Regions from separate parts of the Homo sapiens genome. Here all the other regions are linked to region 4. Evidence: promoter capture Hi-C in 16 types of primary human blood cells and fetal thymus (Javierre and others, 2016). All regions are on one chromosome and are shown on one strand. The core of a region is centred on a gene start or on the middle of the fragment in contact, and the rest is flanking DNA. Distances in the headings are between cores, read along the strand shown.

The links. Contacts are between HindIII fragments. The CHiCAGO score rates a contact against its expected background, and 5 or more counts as called.
Region 1: the fragment with the promoter of M1AP here is called in contact with the fragment with the promoter of TPRKB in region 4 in 1 of 17 cell types (activated CD4 T cells); the score reaches 6.1 in activated CD4 T cells.
Region 2: a fragment that was not itself captured here is called in contact with the fragment with the promoter of TPRKB in region 4 in 1 of 17 cell types (erythroblasts); the score reaches 5.8 in erythroblasts.
Region 3: a contact is called between a fragment that was not itself captured here and the fragment with the promoter of TPRKB in region 4, in 1 of 17 cell types (neutrophils). The highest score is 8.8, in neutrophils.
Region 5: the fragment with the promoter of TLX2 here is called in contact with the fragment with the promoter of TPRKB in region 4 in 1 of 17 cell types (neutrophils); the score reaches 6.6 in neutrophils.
Region 6: a contact is called between a fragment that was not itself captured here and the fragment with the promoter of TPRKB in region 4, in 1 of 17 cell types (non-activated CD4 T cells). The highest score is 6.3, in non-activated CD4 T cells.

Annotation. Positions count from the first base shown.
Region 1 is chr2:74,646,639-74,650,173 of GRCh38, forward strand. It overlaps M1AP (meiosis 1 associated protein), which reads right to left and starts at 1,692. Exons shown (of 11, transcript NM_001321739.2): 1 at 1,627-1,692. The HindIII fragment of the contact is 10,572 bases long and covers 1-3,535 here.
Region 2 is chr2:74,360,753-74,363,925 of GRCh38, forward strand. DCTN1 (dynactin subunit 1) reads right to left here. Exons shown (of 32, transcript NM_004082.5): 27 at 2,862-2,876; 28 at 2,542-2,675; 29 at 2,242-2,425; 30 at 1,898-1,977; 31 at 1,300-1,389; 32 at 403-884. The coding sequence ends at 747. Among named protein-coding and RNA genes, the nearest start is that of DCTN1, 18 kb to the right of the region's middle. The HindIII fragment of the contact is 2,943 bases long and covers 323-3,173 here.
Region 3 is chr2:74,489,140-74,492,209 of GRCh38, forward strand. TTC31 (tetratricopeptide repeat domain 31) reads left to right here. Exons shown (of 13, transcript NM_022492.6): 3 at 886-988; 4 at 1,105-1,334; 5 at 1,517-1,600; 6 at 1,989-2,045; 7 at 2,156-2,236; 8 at 2,342-2,533; 9 at 2,865-2,916; 10 at 3,000-3,070. Among named protein-coding and RNA genes, the nearest start is that of TTC31, 7.6 kb to the left of the region's middle. The HindIII fragment of the contact is 4,043 bases long and covers 1-3,070 here.
Region 4 is chr2:73,735,450-73,738,689 of GRCh38, forward strand. It overlaps TPRKB (TP53RK binding protein), which reads right to left and starts at 1,896. Exons shown (of 5, transcript NM_016058.5): 1 at 1,853-1,896. RefSeq lists enhancers at 2,158-2,237, 2,278-2,337. The HindIII fragment of the contact is 15,665 bases long and covers 155-3,240 here.
Region 5 is chr2:74,513,038-74,516,576 of GRCh38, forward strand. TLX2 (T cell leukemia homeobox 2) reads left to right here and starts at 1,413. Exons shown (of 3, transcript NM_016170.5): 1 at 1,413-2,169; 2 at 2,596-2,833; 3 at 2,936-3,539. The coding sequence starts at 1,770. The coding sequence ends at 3,152. RefSeq lists enhancers at 1-399, 2,649-3,150, 3,151-3,539 and silencers at 274-333, 1,371-1,470, 2,051-2,120. The HindIII fragment of the contact is 6,557 bases long and covers 1-3,539 here.
Region 6 is chr2:74,530,955-74,534,188 of GRCh38, forward strand. It overlaps HTRA2 (HtrA serine peptidase 2), which reads left to right. Exons shown (of 8, transcript NM_013247.5): 3 at 1-151; 4 at 385-417; 5 at 643-748; 6 at 902-971; 7 at 1,665-1,760; 8 at 1,866-2,365. The coding sequence ends at 2,031. It overlaps LOXL3 (lysyl oxidase like 3), which reads right to left. Exons shown (of 14, transcript NM_032603.5): 12 at 3,146-3,234; 13 at 2,928-3,039; 14 at 1,304-2,725. The coding sequence ends at 2,652. Among named protein-coding and RNA genes, the nearest start is that of HTRA2, 2.6 kb to the left of the region's middle. RefSeq lists an enhancer at 1-85. The HindIII fragment of the contact is 295 bases long and covers 1,401-1,695 here.

The DNA.
Region 1 (3,535 bases), core at 442-2,941, 910 kb after region 4:
CTCTCTCATAAGTTTTACTATGAGAGTTTTTTTTCAACAAATAAAACACTTTAGCTCTCAATGTTTCTAATGTTTTAAGTTAGTGTATGAAATAGTTTTACTGTTTTACATTTCCCTATACAGTTAGTAAGAAAGTTTTAGTGTTTTGACAATTTTTCAAGGTTATAGAACAACTGTAATTTTTCCCATTGGTGTTTAAGATCTCTTTGAATGGTTTCAGCTTGCAGTCATTTTTCAATCCCACACTAATGTGCAATTGGAAGACTGTATTTTAAATGAGGTAAGAGGCAGCTCTCTTCCTTACATCCTCAAACATCATCAATTCATGCATCTGATGTGTCTGGGCATAGTACTAAACAGGCTCTGACCTTATTCTGACCCTATACTCTCCACTTTTGCCAAGAACACTCGCTTAATGAATTCTCCCTGCAAACTGGTTAAAACTGGAACTGGGCCTTGAACCACTCCAAACCACCAAGTTATGCCCAAACTAAAAACCCTCCAAGGACTTCCAATTACACCACTGGAAACAGAATCCAATATCTTTACCCTGGCCCTAAAGTTCTGCTTGTGCCTTCTGCCCAACTCTCCATCCTCACACTAGGCCCTCCCCTGCCCGCACCCCGGGAGATCCACCTCTCACAGATCGGCTTCTCGCTGTGTCTGCCTCTGCGGATGTTCTGTTCCGTGCTGAGCATTCTAGGTTAGGGCCCCTTTACAAGCCCTCATTCACTTTGTCGCGTGATAAACGATTCAATGGTTCTCCCTCTGGCAGGGCCCTATTAAAGATTTCGTGGGCCCTAAGGCACTTTCGTCTTCGTGGACCCCTTCCTCCATTAAAAAAAGATTAAAAGAAGTTAATGGATTTTGTAGGCCCTAAAAATCTCATTTCCCCCTCCTGATGTGAGAAAAAAATCAAAACACTTTCTTTGACTTCATGGGTTCACTTTAAACGAAATGAAAACATTCTCGTGGCCGGGCACGGTGGCTCACGCCTGTAATCGCAGCACTTTAGGAGGCCGAGGCGGGCGGATCACGAGGTCAGGAGTTCGAGAGCAGCCTGGCCAACATAGGGAAACCATGTCTCTACTAAAAATATAAAAAAATTAGCCAGGCGTGGTGGCGGGAGCCTGTAATTCCAGCTTACTCGAGAAGCTGAGGCGGAGAATCACTTGAACCCGGGAGGCGGAGGTTGCAGTGAGCCGAGATCACGCCATTGCACTCCAGCTTGGGCAACAAGGGTGAAACTCCGTCTCAAAAACAAAGCAAAACCAGAAGAAAAAAAATTCTCGTGGCTCCCTGAAGCCTCCGTGGTCCCTCGGCATGGCGCCTACCGTGCCTGGCGGATCAGCAGCCCGGCCCTCGGGCCTGGGGGCCCCGCGGAGGAAGCTCCGGGCCCAGACTCCGCGCAGGCCTGGCCGCCCAGAACAGTATGCGGAGGGATGACTCCGACAGCGATTTCGGAGCCTCTCTCGGCGTCAGTCTTGCGCCGGCACCCGCCACGGCCAGCGCAACCAACACCTGCCTGAGGACTGGCCCGAGCTCGGCCCACGCCCAGCCCAGCCTGCGAAGTGGTGCCGGCTGCTCTCGGGCTGCCCTCCCTCCCCGAGGCGTGGAGAACCGTACCTGTCTTCGGAAGACGGAGGCCCCCTCACCTGGTCCTCCCGGCTCTCAGCGTGCGCCCGCGCGTTCGGAGGCGCCCCCCTCAGGCCGGCGCGGCTGGGCGGGAGGCTCACTGCGGGCAAGGCGGGGCCTGGCTGCCTCAGGGTGCGCTTCAGGTGGCGCTTCAGGAAAACGGTCTCCAAGTCCCTAGATACCCTGAGAACAGTCCTTCTTTGTCCCTTAGGTAGAATTTTGTCTATTTGTTGGAAATGCTGTGCTAAACCTGACATTTTTCTTTTTCTACCCCTTCCCATGAAACATGCCAGTAGCTCCCCCACCGACCGTTTTCTTGGTTTTAACTTTTCCCTTCCACATCATTTCCTTCAGCCAGTCGCTATTTTGTTCACTAAACATCTGTGGTGGGCACGTTATGTGCCACGCATTGTGCTAGGATTGGAGTACAGTGGATGTACAGACAATGGTCACTGCCCTCATGGAAGTTATAGCTGCCTTCACAAAGTTCTTTTAAGTCTTTTCAAACTCCTGTATTCCAAGAGGGTCTGTCGCTCTCTTCATACTCATTCTCGCTTACTTGAGGTTGATTCCCATAGTCCCTTTGACGAACTCCAGATGGGGTAGGAGCGTCCTGGTCCTTAACAGTTGGTTGGTCTGGGTCTTCAACTCTGGTTAAAAAGGAATTCTCTGAATTAGTCCACAGGAGAGGGAAAGATAATGCTAGTTCCAAGCTAGAAATGTACAAGCAGTTTTCCTTGTTTTCTTTATTATTATTATTGTTATTTTCTCAGTTCATTGTCTAGATGCAGGTTGGAGGTGGGGTGGGGCAATATTTCAATGAGTGGCACAGGATAGGTTAGATGTTTCAACAGGAAAAGAGTTGCCTGCTTGTATTCTAGTCCCACTAAACCATTTTGCTCCTATCAACTGTTCCTCAGGTAAGAACAGAACTATTTAACCTATGTCCTTTTTTAAACACTATAATCTGATATTCAATAGAGTTCCTGTGTTTCAGTTTAAAGGGTAGCTTCTCAACAGCTCTTTCCCCCCATATAGTCCAAATTAGCCTTTCTGTCTCTAATCTCCAGATTATCGTTTCCACTGATGTTAGAATTGTCCTTGTAAAAATATTTTGATCATATCATTCTTTGTCTTAAAAATGGCTTATGTTTCCTTTTCGGTTAGAGGGTCCATTATAACTGACCCCACCTACCTTACTAGGCTCAACCCCAGCATTACCTGTCTTACTCCCCTTTGTGTTGCTATACCAGAATACCACAGAACAACTAACTTGTAAATAAAGGAAATGTATTCTTAAATTCTGGAGGGTAGGAATTCCAAGGTTGAGAATCCCACATCTAGTGAGGGCATTTTTTCTGTGTCATCCCATGGCAGAAGGCAGAAGGGCAAGGGGTACAAAAGAGCAAGACAGCAATAGGGAGCTGAACTCACTTTTACAACAAACCCACTCTCTCAATAACTAACTCATTTCCAAGATAATGACATTAATTCATTTATGGGGGCAGAGCCCTTATGGCCTAATCACCTCTTGTTAGGCCCCACCTCTGAACACTATTCCATTGGGTACTAAGTTTCCAGCAAATGAACTTTGGGGGACGCATTCAAACTTGAGCACTAGCCTCACTCCAAACCATACCACCCATTGCTCCTACCTACTATTAATTTCTTTCCGTACCCTCTATAGCATTTATTAAAAATATGCAAAGAACTGTACCAGAAATGGGGACTATGACATAAGAATTGTTTTCTGAGGGTGATAAACTATAATGGTCATGAGAAAGCACCTTGCAGACTTTAAACTACAAGGAGTGTAACTGACCAAGGGCATCAGCTGCTGCCTTAGAAATCTACTGCCACGACTGGGCTCCGTGGTTCACGCCTGTAATCCCAGCACTTT
Region 2 (3,173 bases), core at 544-3,043, 630 kb after region 4:
ATTTAGTAAATATTCCCTCTGAGAGACCCCAGGTCTTATGGGAAGACTGGCCAGTACATCAGAAAATTGGCTGGGGTGGTGATCATATCATTACTCCAGCTCCAAAAATTGGACTAAAGAGCAGTGGAAGCTACAGGAAGCAGAGGCAGGGTTGGCAGAGGCTACACCCTCCCAGCCCTCCTGACTCCATAAATGAACTTAGGTACCTAGTCCTAAGTCTAGCCCTTTCCTCCTTGGTTAGAGTAACTTACTGCACATGAATTTTAGAAACAGCATTCTTCTGGTCACTACGAAGAGGAGACCTCAAATTTGATACAGCCAAAGCTTCCTCAGCATCGCTTCTCCTCCACTCCTGCTGTGAGCTTAATGGCCCAAGTCCCACTCTCAACACCACACAGGAAGCACTGAAGCAGAAGTTGCTTTAATCAAGGGGTGAAGTCCTCAATCAAGGGGACCTCACTTAACCTTTGGTGGTGGGGTCTCAGCCTACCCCCCACAAGCCCTGAGGCCCCTCAGGAAGGAGGGAGCAGTTGAACAACAAATTATGGCAGAGGCCAGGGAATGGGAGTGGGGGAACCCGGGTCAAGGTGAAGGGGCAGGACGCTGAAAGGGTGGGAGTGAAGCTGAACGGGGCAGGAAGAGCTTAACCCACGTTTCTACCTGGGGGCTGGCTGAGGTGGCTGTGCATCGGGCAGAGCGGCACCAGAGGGCTGAGGGTCGAAGGGGACAGCAGGGGAAAGGAGTGCTTAGGAGATGAGGCGACTGTGAAGCTGGTGCAGCTGCTCCTGGGTCAGCACCAGCCGGTGTCGCTGTCCAAAACCAGCCGCACATGAGAAGGTCACTTTGCCCATGTAGACTGTGTCATCCTGCTGCTCCTCCTTGGCCTGGTGGTTGATGAGGAGAAAAAGACTCCAGGTCAGGGGCTCACTTGAGCTGTGGGCCACTGAAGGGGTCCCTGAGCACTGAGACCAAGGCAGCTCCTGGGTGACTAGGGCTTCTGAGATCCTGGGCTATTGTGACCACATTTTTCAAATAAGAATGGGGATACATAATCTGACAAGGGAGTTTTGAGGCCCTCCTGGTGTCAAAAGTCACGGAAGGTGTTTAGGTGCTAAAATATTGGAATTTCAAAGCACTGTAAGCACTTCTGAGTTACTTGTAAGTAAAATTTGGCCAGATAACCCAAGGTATGCAGTTGTTAGACCTGAGACTCCAAAGGCCTCCTCCAATTCTGGAGGAGAGGGGGGCCCGCCTGAGCTCTCCACACTGTCCCATCCTCCACCCCATGCTCCCCCTCACCCTGAGGAAGGCTGATGAAGGGAAGGTGGCAAAGTCAGTGGGTACTGTGGCTCCAGGGCGCTGAGATACTGTCTCCTTGAGGACCTCATCCTAGGGAAGGGGAGAGGAAGACAAGGGTTCATTTATGGGACCCCCACAGGCTAGCACAAGACCACGTGGTTTCACAGAGACACTAATACCAGGGGGGCAGGGACTTAGTCCTCTATATCAACATACTTTTGCTCTCATCTCCAACCCCATCCCCACACCAGCACTCCTCCTTACTTTGCAAGTCCTCATCCTGTAAGGCCCAACTCACATTCTACCGCTCTTGGGAAGCCATGCCCAACCGTTCTACCCCACAATGATCTCAGCGCTGATGGAAGCTAAAGCCTGAACCAGTCACTCTAAAGATTACCCTAGCTTATCCATTTTGTTATGAGAATCTGTCTTCTGTTTGCACTGAGACAGTGAGCTTCCAAGGCAAGAACCCTGCCTTCCCTTCCATCTCCTCCCCAATTGCTGTCTAGCACAGGGCTGGGCTCAGAGGAACTCCACAAGTGCCTGGCTCCACCAGTTTATGCTGTGAAGTGAGCTCTGCCTGGCAAACTGAGCTGACCTTGAGCTTCTCGACGGTGTCACTCAGGGACTTAAGCTGAGCCACTTGCTCCATAAGTTGGGCCGACGGGCTCTTGGCAGCTGTGGGGAGAGAAAGCTGGTGAGGCCCACCAAGGCGCAGGCAGGCAGTTCTACTGGATTAAGGGTTAGGGGTGCAGGTATAAGACTCTCTAACAGAACAAGTACTTGAGAGAGAGTGGGTGAATCAAACAAACTGAACAGTGAAGCCAAAGAACACTGCTGGGAAGAGCTTCTGTGGTGGGGGAACCACCTGAGCAGGGGCTAAATCCCTGGGCCAAGTGGAGGGGGCAGTTTTATTCATCTTGGGGGTTGGCAGGTACATACCAGGGCTGGTGCGAGTGATGTCTACTACGTGCGTGTGTGTGCTCAATTGATTCAATGTCTCCAGCAGCTGGCTGGTCTTACGATACAGCGCTCCAGCTGGTAACTCACTGCCAGGGCCCTCATGGGATAGCTTTGCAACATGCAGAGGGGGCAGGGATGCCAAGGATGCCTTCATCTGGGCTCCCTGTGGATGAAAAAAGAAGGATAGTGGTAAGAGGTGCTAGGAGGCCCCTGTCATCTATCATCAATGGGGCAAATATGCTCCATCTCCCATCCCAGTCCTCCCCGTGGCTCCCTCACCTTGAGGATGCTGTTCTCATGCTGGAGCTGGGAGATGTGCAGCCTCATGGCAGAGATCTGCTGAAGCAGCAGTGGTGAGTCCTTCACCAGCCCTGGGCCTGGCACAGACCCTGGAGCCTGCCCAGGGATGGCTCCTGTGGGGACCATAAAAAATCTCATCAGCCCCAAGTGGAAAGGGTTGAAAATTGGGCTCCATTCCTACTCTTCCCCTTTCCTCATCCCCCCATCACCCATCTCCAGTCCTGGCTTCCCCCTCCACCCTGCTCCCTTAGCTCCAACTCCCACCAGCCTGGTAACCCCCGGCCAGAGTGGGTCTCTACCTCGCTGCTGTTCTTCTGTGCTCGGGATAGCCCATGGGGGAGCAGGAAAAGAGGAGAGAGGAGTTAGGTGATTTGGGGGTTACGGGGACACACCAGAGGAATCCTGGACACAACCTGCAGGAAAACCCTTTTCCTAATCATCATACTTTCTCTAACAAGACTCTCTGCCACCTATCTTTGGGGACGAGCAGATAAGTGTTAAAGAAAGACACCAAACAGGAGTGAGGCCACAAGACAGGGTACAATGTGTGAAGAACAGTGGCAAAGAGAGTGTGCACTGTACAAAGTACTTGGAACATGAGGCTGTTCCTG
Region 3 (3,070 bases), core at 114-2,613, 750 kb after region 4:
AGCAATAGAAAGCAATCAATAACAAGTTTCTAAATTGTGTAACACAGATAATGTGGTTGCAGGTTAGTTGGAGGAGGCAGAGATAATTGGAGATGAAAGGGTCTGGGAAGGCTTTGAAGGGAGATAGAATTTGAACTGGACCTTGAAGGTGAGGCAAGATGTGAGAAAGAAGCTCAAGAGTTAGGAGGGATTGGAGAGCAGCTGGGGGAAGGCCCCAAGGCTGGAGGGAGCCTGGTGGTGGGAGGGAGGACAGCAGTGAAGCAGGGGAGGATTAAAAGGAGGGCTGGAAAGGTCAGCCTGGGAGCCTTTTGGAAGGCTCTGAATCGTAGGCTGAGGAATTAGGTTCAACTCTGCCTATGGCCTTGGCAGTGGGGGATTATTGGATGTCCCTGAGTAGGGAAGTAATTTCTTAGAGCTTAGTTTTGTGGAGAAACAGATGAGGTGCAGAGGAGCGGCCAGCCAGGAGCTGCTGTACTTGTTTAGGTGTGAGCTAGCCTCAGGGTGGGTTATGTGGAGCTGTTCATACTGCAGATATGACAGGGGGCCTAGCTGGAAGAGCAGGTGGGAGGGCTTCATTCCAGGGGCCTCAGTGTGGCTAACTCAGGTTGAGGAGAGAAGATCCTGGATGGTAGAGGAGGCCAGGTTGAATACCATACTCAACCCTTGGGAAGGCAGGAAAGCAGCGAGGGGAGGTGATTCACTACAATAGCTGGGGGCAGCAGATTTTGCGGTGCTGAGGAGGGAGAGGTCAGAGCCAGTGAGAGTCTCTGGGCTGGATAGCTGGTTGGTGGCTGCCATGGTGGAGAGATCAAGCCAGCGAAGCCCTTGCTCTCTCCAGGAACTGCCCCCAACACCAGCCTCCCCTCCCCTCCCCTCCCCTCCCAGGACATAGTGGATTTTCTTCGACGGCTTGTGGAGAGTGATCCCCAGGGCCTGCACCGGATCCATGTGGATGGGAGCAGCGGGCGGCTGCAGCTGTGGCACCATGGTGGGGAGTGCAGGGACCGGGCCCAGGGATCGAGGCTGGTACCCTGGGAGGGCTGACCCTCAGATGCACCCCGCTCTCATGTCCTTTCTTTCCTGTCTCTTTCTCCCTCCTGACAGATTACCTCCTGGGCCACTTGGATGATGAAGGGAAATCAACTGGACAGAGTGACAGGGGCAAGGGGGCTGAGGGACTGGGCACCTACTGTGGTCTCCGCAAGTCCTTCCTGTATCCTCCCCAAGAGTCTGAGCCCTGCCCTCAAAGCCCCTCTGCCTCTGCCACCTTCCCCAGTGTCTCAGACAGCCTGCTTCAGGTGGCCATGCCCCAGAAGCTCCTGGTGACAGAAGAGGTGAGATTCTCAGGAGAGGGCTTTGCCGTCCCCCAGGGTTCTTTCAATCCCTGTATCCCCATCCCTATATTCTCCCCTAATTGGTACCTTTCAAGATCCTTCTATACTGCCTGCCCCCTTTCATGTTTGCTCTCCATTTCCCTGTTTCTCTCTTTTTCTGTCACCTGCCCTTCGTCCTTCAGGAAGCCAATCGCCTGGCTGAGGAGCTGGTGGCTGAGGAGGAGCGCATGAAACAGAAAGCAGAGAAAAAGCGACTCAAGAAGAAGGTGGCTAGAGCATGGCTGGAGGGTGCAGGGGAGCCAAAGGGATTTGGGAGAGGGAAAGAGGAAACTTTGTGGGAACAGGAGAGAGCTCAAGATGGCCTGCAGTGGACTCTCTTGCCAGGAGGACACAAGGGGCCCAGGGACTGGGGGGTCTCTCACAGGCCATCTGGTGCAGTGGTTCTGGAATCCTACTGTGCTGCCTAGGTAGGAATCTGCCTCCTTACATGAGGCCTCTTGCTGGTGCCTCTCTTGTCTGCTTTTTCACCTGCAAAATGAGGATAATAATGATGCCTGTCTCATAGAGCTGCAAAGATGGAATGCGAAATCTTAGCCCAGCACACGACATACAGTAAGTGTTCAAAATACATCATTGTTACCATTACTATTGCAGCGTCAAAAGGAACGGAAGCGACAGGAGCGTTTGGAGCAGTACTGTGGGGAGCCCAAGGTGAGTATCTAGGGCAGGTACTAAGAGCACCAAGTGCCAGGAAGGTGAGGGCCAAGAAAGCAGGCAGCTCAAGGTGATCCCAACTCTGTACCTGTCTATCTTTCTTCCAGGCCAGCACTACCTCAGATGGAGATGAGAGCCCCCCATCCAGCCCTGGAAACCCAGTTCAGGGACAGTGTGGTGAAGAAGAGGTGAGAGCCCCTTTTTTCCCTTCTTGGTCTCTGCTCATTTTCCTCCTCCTCCTCCAGAATGTACTTCATCCCCACCCCCTCCCTAACTTTCCATTTTGTTCACAGGACTCACTGGATCTATCTAGCACTTTTGTGTCTCTGGCTTTGCGCAAGGTTGGGGATTGGCCCCTCAGTGCCCGCAGAGAGAAGGGACTGAACCAGGAGCCCCAAGGCAGGGGTCTGGCCCTCCAGAAGATGGGTCAAGAGGAAGAGAGCCCTCCAAGAGAGGAGAGGCCCCAGCAGAGTCCAAAGGTACAGGTGAGGTGGCTGAAGAACCTTATTCAGCTGGAACCGTGGAAGGGGCACAAGGAGCTGCTGGGGAGGCACAGGGTCTAAGGATTGACACAGGGTCCAGTGGGAGTTCTCTGGCTCTAGGGTCAAGAGACCTACAGTCAGGCCCCATCACTGTCACCATGACCCCGGGTGGTTTCCTGTCTAGGAAGATAGGGCTGATACCATCTTGTAGGGCTGTCATGAGGATTACATGAGTTGGGTAATGCTAATTGCAGTGTTACCTGTTTAAACAAAGGAGAAGGATTTGGGGAGGCTGAGACCTCAAGACCTGCTTGACTTTGCACCCTATCCCCAGGCATCTCCGGGACTGCTGGCAGCTGCCTTACAACAGAGCCAGGAACTGGCAAGTGAGATCCTTTCTCTCTCCGTCCTCACCCCACCCTCCCTGGGGTAGCCCCATCTGAACCTTCTCACCCTCTTTCCTTTCCAGAGTTGGGTACCAGCTTTGCTCAAAATGGTTTCTACCATGAGGCCGTGGTCCTCTTCACCCAGGCCTTGAAG
Region 4 (3,240 bases), core at 646-3,145:
ACGTTGTGCACATGTACCCTAGAACTTAAAGTATAAAAATAAAAAAAAAGGATAAAGTATCCCACTTGACCCAAAGATATTCATTCCACGCATGGAAATTAAGCAGAGAGGGTACAATTATTAAATAATCAATGTCGCTCCTTTCTTGGACATAAGCTTAACAAGAAAAGGATAGGTTATTATATATAAAGACATAAAAGAAACATAAAAGACAACTTGAATAACCAGAAAGACATGACCATATCTTTGAATGGAAAAACTATGTATTGCAAAAATTTCTTTAAAACAATTTCTATCAAATTCTTAATAAAATATTTTGGTGGGGCAATTTGAGACTCATTTTATCCTTTTACCTGGCAGATTATATTTCTAGAACTCTTTCTGATGGAAGTCATTAGGAATCCAATAATTATATAAGATGTTCCTCTCATTATTTTAACAGTAAAAAGTTGCAAATAACCTATCTAGCTAATGATGGGATTAGTTGTTATTTAACAACCATTAAAACATGTGGTCTTGACGGTGTGTAAAAACGGCAATAAATAACATTAAGTAAGTAAAAACATCTGAATGGAAAACAAAACACAAACTGGCCAAAATGTGGGTTTTTTAAAAGGCTTTTAAACAAATATTAAAAAGAAAATACACCAAAAAGTTAATGTTATCTCTTATTTAGAATTAATTTGACTTTTTCTGTTACAAACAGAAAAAAATATATTTGTGAACGATATCCTGGCACACAGTTCAATCATTAGTCATGCTAAGGTGGAAAAAATGGATACAGAAAGACATAATCAGTAGGATCCCAATTATATAAAAAGATACACATATTTTTTTAAAATACATGAAAGAAACACTAAAATATGACCATCTTGGGTAGTGAGGTTATGAGGTGATTTTTATTGTCCTTTATATAAAAGAAAATATTTTGTTATGTATGTTCTGAATTTTCTACAGTAAGCACACAAAACATGAGTACACATAATAAGAAAGGAAAAAAACGTGCTTTTTAACACTGAGTGGGGGGAAGAACCCTTAGAAAACTTCAAAATAGTTTGTTCTTGTTTAGCGTAATTTACTCACTCAGGTCAGAAACTTGGAATCATCGTTGAGACCCAACCTGTCACTCAAATCCTATATCTAATCCGTAAAGTCCTGAATTTTCACCTGCTAAATATACTTTTGATTCGTCCACTTCTCTCCCATACGCTAGGTCACATCGCTCATCTACAGCAGTAGCCTTCTGAGTGGTTTCTCACAATTCCTGCCCTCCTATAATCCAGTCGTCACCAGCAGTTACAGTGATCCTTTCAAAATGTACATCAGATCTTGTCATTCTGCTGCTCTTATGATAAAGCCCCAACTTTGTGTCACGGTGTTCCACACTCTACGATCTGGTCCCTGCCTCTCCTCTTCTGCTACCGCCGCAATGGCCTTCTCTAAGCTCAAGTCACCAACCTTTCTCCCCGATTCTGCCCTATCGGACAGGTAGTTCCCTCTCTCCTTTCATCTCCGCCTGACGCACTCCTCCCTCCCTTCAACTCCATTTGGAGTCCATTTACTACAGCGCCCAGAACCCCGGCACTACGGCTCTTTTTAGTCTGAGGACTAGCTCCTTTTTGGGCCCAATCACAACTCTGAAGAATCCTGCGCCTATCCGCTGCATGTCTCCTCACTAAACTATTTCTTGAGGGGACAGCCTGACTCTATCATTCTCGTGCTGCATTCCCAGGGGCTGGCCTCGTTGCCGCTTGAGAAATACCAACCGCAGCCGTTGTCCCAAAGACACTACTAAAACTGCCCGGACCCTCCCGCTCCCGAGCCTGCCCGTTAGAGCGCAAGGAAAACTCACCATCCGGCCCCCAGTGCGTCTCGGAAGAGCTCCCGCTCCGAAACAAAGCTCACAACTTCCGGAAGCGATGGCCAATCCCCGTCTTCTTCGAGCCAGTTTCCGGATAGGCCGGCTCGGGGTGGCCATCTGTTTCCGGGTCCTGGTAGGAGGGGTGCTTCCGCCCATGGTCCCGCCCATTCTTCCGCCTCCCCAACCTGGGTCCCGTCAACGGACGCGAAGGAGAACAGGGGCTGTATATCACTTCCGGCGAAGGAAATGGAAGAATCTATGGGCTGGGACCGGAAGCTGGGGTCTGGTTTTGAGTCTCGGCTTTGTCTTAACCTGTGTTGGGCGTTGCACCGGGCGACCTCAGTTTCTTCCTGTACAAGGAAAAGTACTGACCAAAATGAGTTCTACATACATTTCCGCTGCTGGAGATTTCTTTGGTTTTTGAGACAGAGTCTTGCTCTGTTACTCAGGCTGGAGTGCTGTGGTGCAATCTCGGCTCACTGCAACCTCCGCGTCCCGGTTCAAGCCATTCTCCTGCCTCAGCCTCCCGAGCAGCTGGGACTACAGGCACCCGCCACCACGCCCCGCTAATTTTTTGTATTTTTAGTAGAGACGGGGTTTCACCGTGTTAGCTAGGATGGTCTGGATCACCTGACCTCGTGATCCACCCGCCTTGGCCTCCCAAGGAGCTGGGATTAGTTCTTTTTCTGGGCCATGTCTCCTGTGACACTTTGGACTTTTGAGTTTAATGCTGGAACAAGTTAAAATTTTGGTAGGTGATTGGGAAGGCATGATTATGTTTTGCAATGTCAGAAGGACATGAGATTTGGGGGTCCAGGGATGGATTGAATATATGTCCCTGCCAAATCTCATGTTGAATTGTCCCCATTTTTGGAGGTGGGACCTGATGGGAGGTGTTTGGGTCATGGAAGTGGATCTCTCATGGCTTGGTGTCTTTGCAATAGTGAGTGAGTGCCAGGAAGATGTGGTTATTTAGAAGTGTGTGGCACCCTCCAACACAGTCTCTTGGTCCAGTTCTCACCATGTGATGTGCCTGCTCTCTCTTCTCCTTCTGCCAATAGTAAAAGCTCCCTGGGGCCTCCTCAGAGGCCAAACAGATGGTGGTACTATGCTTCCTGTACAGCCTGCAGAAACATGAGCCAATTTAACCTCGTTTCTATATAAATTACCCAGTCTCAGGTATTTCTTTGTGGCAATGCAACAGCCTAATTGCAGGGGGCAGGGGCAGGGGGAAGAGGTGGGGAGGCATGACACACTGGGCTAAAACATGAAGAACATTCGGCCAGGTGCGGTGGCTCACGCCTGTAATCCCAACACTTTGGGAGGCCGAGGCAGGCAGATCACCTGAAGTCGGGAGTTCGAGACCAGCTTGACCAACG
Region 5 (3,539 bases), core at 163-2,662, 780 kb after region 4:
CCAGGGAGATCCAGCTAGTAGACTTACAAAGCATTTCGGTTCACACGGGAACCAGCAGGATGGAGCTGAACAGCGGGGTGGGCTCGGGACGAGGGTAGAGGGCTGGCACAGCAGGGTAAGGTCCTTTGGCCACCACGTGTCAGAGGTAGGCTGAGCTGCTCGTTGGTGCCCACCCGCCACCGCCACCGCAGGATGGTAGAAGCGCCCCCCTCTCTGAGCCCAGTCTCACCGGCTCAGAGGCGCCAGGGCCCCCCCGGGGGCCGGGGCGGGCCGGGGAAGGTAATGTAATTCCGGCCCAGCTAACCCGATTACCGCGGCCTGCACCGGGCAGGGCGGCGGCGGGGGCGGGTCTAAGGCTCAGGGGCCCGCCCGCGGGGGTCCCATCCCCGGGAAGGACGCAGAGTTCACGCACTCCCGGCTCCTGGATTCATGGCCAGAGGTCACAAGGTCACCAAGCGGCTTAGGTCTTTCCCCACCTCCCTTCTCTGACAGCTCCAGGCCATTTTTTGAGTTTGGGTGGGGTAAAATGTTTATGGGAAACAAGGCGGCCAGGATCCAACCAAGGCCTCAGTGAGGTCCCACGTGTCCCCCGTGGCGAGATTTCGCCCTCCCGCCGTTGAGGAGGAAGAGTGTGAGAACAGACTTCCTAGGCACAGAATGGAGGGGCAGAGTCCTGCATTGAGGACTCCCTGCACTTGGGGTCCGGGGGTAAGTGCCAGCCCCAAGAACCCGCCGGCCTGATTTGGCCCGGGTTGAGCCATGGTCCGTTTTACACGGATTTTGGAAAATCGAAATTCTAGGAAACACAGGACACCAATTACCGGTGCGCATGAACAGGGCTGGGGGGACCTACAGGAGAGGCCAGAAGGCGCACCACGATCGCCAGCCCAAAGCGGCCGTTCCCCGCCCTTAGCCCCTGCCGTCCCCTTCCCACACCTGTTCTCTTCCTGGGCCTGCAGCTCACCGGGCGCCGTTCCCCAGCCGCTTCTTACGCAGCCGGGAAACCACAACGAGATTTGGTCTTCGAGAGCATTTAGGCGGGGACCACAACGAATCCGGGAGTTGGCCAGAAGGATCCATCGAGAGGCGAAGAGTGGGGGCTGGGGGAGGAGGCACCTGCGGAGGAAGCCGGTGAGGCGGAGGCAGCCCAAAGGCGGAGGCCGCCCAAAGGCGGAGGCCAGCAAGGATGGAGGCGCGGTGAGCATCTCCGCTGACTCAGCGGCCCATGCTCGGGCCCCTCCCGCGCTGAGCCTGGCTCCTAACACCCTGGCCCCCTGTCCCCCTCCCCGCACATCTCCGCCAGCCAGCCTTCCCCCTGCGCTTGGCGCAAACAGGCGTCCCTTCCCCTTTAACTGCTGGGCCCCGCCCCTGCCCTACCCCCAGCCCCCACTACCCACCCGGGCCGATCCGTCAGTCACTGCCCCAGCCGGAGCTGGCCAACCCTCTCCACCCGGGACTTGGGCAGCGGCGCCGGCAGCCCAGCGTCTATTTGCGCTTAAGAGCCAGCAAGGAAGCTCCAGGGGCCCCAGCTGGCCGTGCTCCCCCGGGATGCAAGTCCCTGCGCTGACGCCCGGCAGCGGCTGGCACGGGCGCGGCTGCTCCGGGTGCACAGGGATGCTGCTGTTTCGGGGACCCCGGCGCCCTGCCTTGGCCAGCCCCGCGGGCCCCTGAGGCCACTCTCCGGAGCGCGCCGCCGCTGGGCTTCTGGCGCTGCCTGAGGCATCCTCCCCAACCACCGAACCTCCGGCGGTTCTCCTCGGCCCAGACCGATGGAGCCGGGGATGCTGGGTCCACACAACCTCCCACACCACGAGCCAATCAGCTTCGGCATCGATCAGATCCTGAGCGGCCCCGAAACCCCAGGGGGCGGTCTAGGCCTGGGTCGCGGGGGCCAGGGTCATGGGGAGAATGGGGCGTTCTCGGGTGGATACCACGGAGCCTCGGGCTACGGTCCCGCCGGCTCACTTGCCCCGCTGCCCGGCAGCTCCGGAGTGGGCCCAGGCGGCGTGATCCGCGTCCCTGCGCACCGCCCGCTGCCTGTGCCGCCGCCCGCTGGGGGGGCGCCTGCAGTGCCTGGGCCCTCGGGTTTGGGCGGCGCCGGAGGCCTAGCGGGACTCACCTTCCCCTGGATGGACAGCGGCCGCCGCTTTGCCAAGGACCGGCTCACGGGTGAGGTTGTCTGACCCCTCCAGCGTCACGCCCGACTCTGACCCCGTCTCCTCATTTCTTAGCTTTCTGCTCCAACTCAAGGACCCCTTTCACACCTCCCACTAGATCCTCCCAGGGGATCCTCCCCCAACTCAAATCTCTGGGTCCTGCCTCCGAGAGGTGATGGGGAGGGAGCTGCCGTCGGTGCCCGCGCCCTCCTCTGTAGTCCCACTGTCCACGCGTGGGGAGGGGAGGGTGAAGTTACAGGGGACGTCTCCCTCGCATCCCAGGGGAAGGGCCTTTCTTGGCTATAGGGCTCGGCTGATGCTTAGGGCCCGGGTAAGGACAGGGCGCGGGAGTTCTGCGGCCTGGACAGCCGCGCGGCCTTCTCAGTGGCACCTCGGGCCACCCTGCAAATCCTGCCCTGGTCTTTCTTCCTCCCGGTAGCTGCGCTCTCGCCCTTCTCTGGGACGCGCCGCATAGGCCACCCCTACCAAAACCGGACCCCTCCGAAGCGGAAGAAGCCGCGCACGTCCTTCTCCCGCTCACAGGTGCTGGAGTTGGAGCGGCGCTTCCTGCGCCAGAAGTACCTGGCCTCTGCGGAGAGGGCGGCGCTGGCCAAGGCCTTGCGCATGACCGACGCACAGGTCAAAACGTGGTTCCAGAACCGACGCACCAAGTGGCGGTGAGGCGCGGCGCGGGCGAGGGCGGACTGGGGTTCCCGAGCAGGGCCTGGTGAGAAGCGACGCGGCGGGCGCCCCGCTGACCCCGCGTCTCCCTCCCTTAGGCGCCAGACGGCGGAGGAGCGCGAGGCCGAGCGGCACCGCGCGGGCCGGCTGCTCCTGCATCTGCAGCAGGACGCGTTGCCACGGCCGCTGCGGCCGCCGCTGCCCCCGGACCCTCTCTGCCTGCACAACTCGTCGCTCTTCGCGCTGCAGAACCTGCAGCCCTGGGCCGAGGACAACAAAGTGGCTTCAGTGTCCGGGCTCGCCTCGGTGGTGTGAGCGACGCCCGTCCGATCGGCGTGGAGCGCCGGGCCCGGAGCGGTGGAGCGCGCGGCTGCCTGCGTCCATGGTCTAGTGGCAGCCGGGCGCGTGAGGAGCGGCAGGCCTTGAGGCTGTCGTCGAGGGCTCCTCCACCACCGGCCGGCTCCCAAGCCAGCGTTGCGCAGATGCACGGCCAGCTCAGAGGCGGCCTTTCCCGCCATTTTTCACTTCACTGCCGTTACGCCCTCGCTGGAACCTGAGGCGCCGAGAGGGCGGGACCTGCAGGACAGTAGCCAATGAGGTGCGGGGAGGGGGCCGGGCTGGCCAATGGGAGCTGCTTTCCTGAGGGACTCGAAATTCTCCGGCGGGTGGTCGGGAGCTGGGGCTCTGAGGGGCTCTAGCGGC
Region 6 (3,234 bases), core at 298-2,797, 800 kb after region 4:
GCAAGGGGAGTTTGTTGTTGCCATGGGAAGTCCCTTTGCACTGCAGAACACGATCACATCCGGCATTGTTAGCTCTGCTCAGCGTCCAGCCAGAGACCTGGGACTCCCCCAAACCAATGTGGAATACATTCAAACTGATGCAGCTATTGATGTGCGTCCTGATAGGAGAGAAATGACAAATGATGGGGGAGGGGGGAGAGGCTGTGTGGTACAAGCACCAACTGATATATGGTGGATGAGCCTATATAGAGCTTAGGCTGCAAAAATGTGGCCACTTATTCATGGGCTGAGAAAGAAGAGAATTTGGAGAAAGTACCTACATCCTGGTATGCCCCCAGACTTAGAATCCCCAGATCTCTTTCATGTTTTCTCCTTGTCCTACAGTTTGGAAACTCTGGAGGTCCCCTGGTTAACCTGGTGAGTGAGACATCCTTCCTTCCAAGAATCCCTGCCCCAGGTCAGTGTGGGAAGGGTAGGTTTCCCCTAATTCAAGGATGTTTGGTCAAGTTTCTGAGCAGTTCTTTGTTGGCTATCTCTCAATATCCAACCAGATCTCCCCAACACTTGCTGGTACTTTTGTTCGGGTGCCCCCATCCCCTACTATTTGTTTAGGCTAGGGAACTGGGGGCTGTATCCCTGCAGGATGGGGAGGTGATTGGAGTGAACACCATGAAGGTCACAGCTGGAATCTCCTTTGCCATCCCTTCTGATCGTCTTCGAGAGTTTCTGCATCGTGGGGAAAAGAAGAGTGAGCCTGCCTTATGGGGAAACGGGTTCCTTTAATGTGGTGGAAATAGGGGAAGGGCATTCAGTGGGACTTCCTGGAGGGTGGTCTACTGGGAGAAGAGGGCAGGGAAGGAAGGATGTAGCTGGGTGGGGCTCATTTGTCCCTCTGTCACAGATTCCTCCTCCGGAATCAGTGGGTCCCAGCGGCGCTACATTGGGGTGATGATGCTGACCCTGAGTCCCAGGTATGAGCTTTAGGGACAGTGACATGTAATGTGACCAGTGTAATCAGAGGGGGGCACCTCTATTGAGCTTTGTTCTCATTTCTGTCTTTATCTAAGATGAACTGTGTCACACTTGAAATAATCACAAGAGCTGTCTCCCTTCATCATCTTGACTTTCTTATCCCACTCCACTTTGTACACCTGTCACCAGATTGATTTCATCCTGTTACTGCTTTGATTTCAAGCCTTCAATCCATTAACTTGGCATTTAAGGGCCATTTTCCATCTGTCTGTAAATCAACTTTCTAGACCTGGCTGTAATACCTTCCTATATGAATACTCAGCCAACCTGATTTCCTACTCCCATGTTTTTTATTTATGCTGTTCTTGTTTTATATGGTTAATATCAGATCCATCCTTTTAGGCTCAACTTAAGTTCTTTCCCCTTAAAGCTTCTCTTAGTATTCTAGAATGACATTAGTGCTATTGATTTAACACTGTTTGTCATTTGGTGCCCTCATGTGGTGTACATCTTTTATGTACATGTTGCACTTTATTGCTAGAAGACAGAAAGTGAGTTGCCATTGTATTTTGTAGTACCTAGCCCATGTCCTGTCCATATATTTATCAATGTGTTGATGAGAGACTTGAGGTGGAACTCAGGATGGGGAGAATGCCTGGGTTTGGCTAATAGGGTGATCTGTGTACTTTCAGCATCCTTGCTGAACTACAGCTTCGAGAACCAAGCTTTCCCGATGTTCAGCATGGTGTACTCATCCATAAAGTCATCCTGGGCTCCCCTGCACACCGGTGAGGGAGAGGCTGCAGTGTGATATGGGGATGGGCAAGGTGTGCATGTGTCCTTGAACTAGGCTTTGTACTCCTTCCTTTCTCTCTGTCCATTTTTCTCTATAGGGCTGGTCTGCGGCCTGGTGATGTGATTTTGGCCATTGGGGAGCAGATGGTACAAAATGCTGAAGATGTTTATGAAGCTGTTCGAACCCAATCCCAGTTGGCAGTGCAGATCCGGCGGGGACGAGAAACACTGACCTTATATGTGACCCCTGAGGTCACAGAATGAATAGATCACCAAGAGTATGAGGCTCCTGCTCTGATTTCCTCCTTGCCTTTCTGGCTGAGGTTCTGAGGGCACCGAGACAGAGGGTTAAATGAACCAGTGGGGGCAGGTCCCTCCAACCACCAGCACTGACTCCTGGGCTCTGAAGAATCACAGAAACACTTTTTATATAAAATAAAATTATACCTAGCAACATATTATAGTAAAAAATGAGGTGGGAGGGCTGGATCTTTTCCCCCACCAAAAGGCTAGAGGTAAAGCTGTATCCCCCTAAACTTAGGGGAGATACTGGAGCTGACCATCCTGACCTCCTATTAAAGAAAATGAGCTGCTGCCATCTTTTGTGGGCAGTTAGTCAGGTGCTGCTCTTTGTGGTGTGGTGGGCTCTGGTCTGTTCTGCTCGGTGCTGGGCCTGGGAGCAAAGATTCCCATGCTTGGCTACAGATACTGACAGCTGGCCTCTGAAGGAGGGTGAAAACTTCTGCTTGACAGTTCCACATCCATAGTGCATGGTCTGATGAGTGCGGTTGCTGACATGGGTTTCTTGGTAAGCTCCTGAGGTAATGGCAGCCTCAGACCCCTGCCATTAGGGGCCAGTGGTGGTTTGCAGAGGGCAGTGGCACTTAGATAATCTGGTTGCTGGTCTGGCCAGGGTAGCGTTCAAACCTCCTGTTGGCCTCTTCACTGAAGGCATCACCTGCAGAGTGGACAGGCAATTTGGGAGGCGCCCTGCACAGAGGGAGGGAGATAGATGCACTGTGGAGAAGGGTGGGTAGAAGTGGAGGGACTGAGAGCTCTACAGGAAGGTGGGAAGATGGAGAAACAAGCTATGGAAAAGAGAATGAACGTCTTTCCCTCCCATCCCCTAATCTTCCTGGGTTGCTCTTCCCATCAAATACCAATGTGGCAGTTGTGCACCCAGATTCTATGTCCATCATATTTGCAGTTACATTTCATTGCATTGTTGGTAAAGTCACTCTCTGCTACTTCAAAGTTTGGGTTGATGACAACCTGTGAGTGAGAAAAAGGCCACTTAACCCAGCGACAATCCTCGAATTCAAAGGTGTCTTTAACGCTCCCCCCACTCACCCATCTGGAAGCCCCAGACTCCAGGTACCTGGAGAATGTAGTTTCCTGGCTTCACATCCGTGATGTCAATCCACTGACAGTCAATGTCATGCCGGTAGAGATCCCAGCAACCCACAG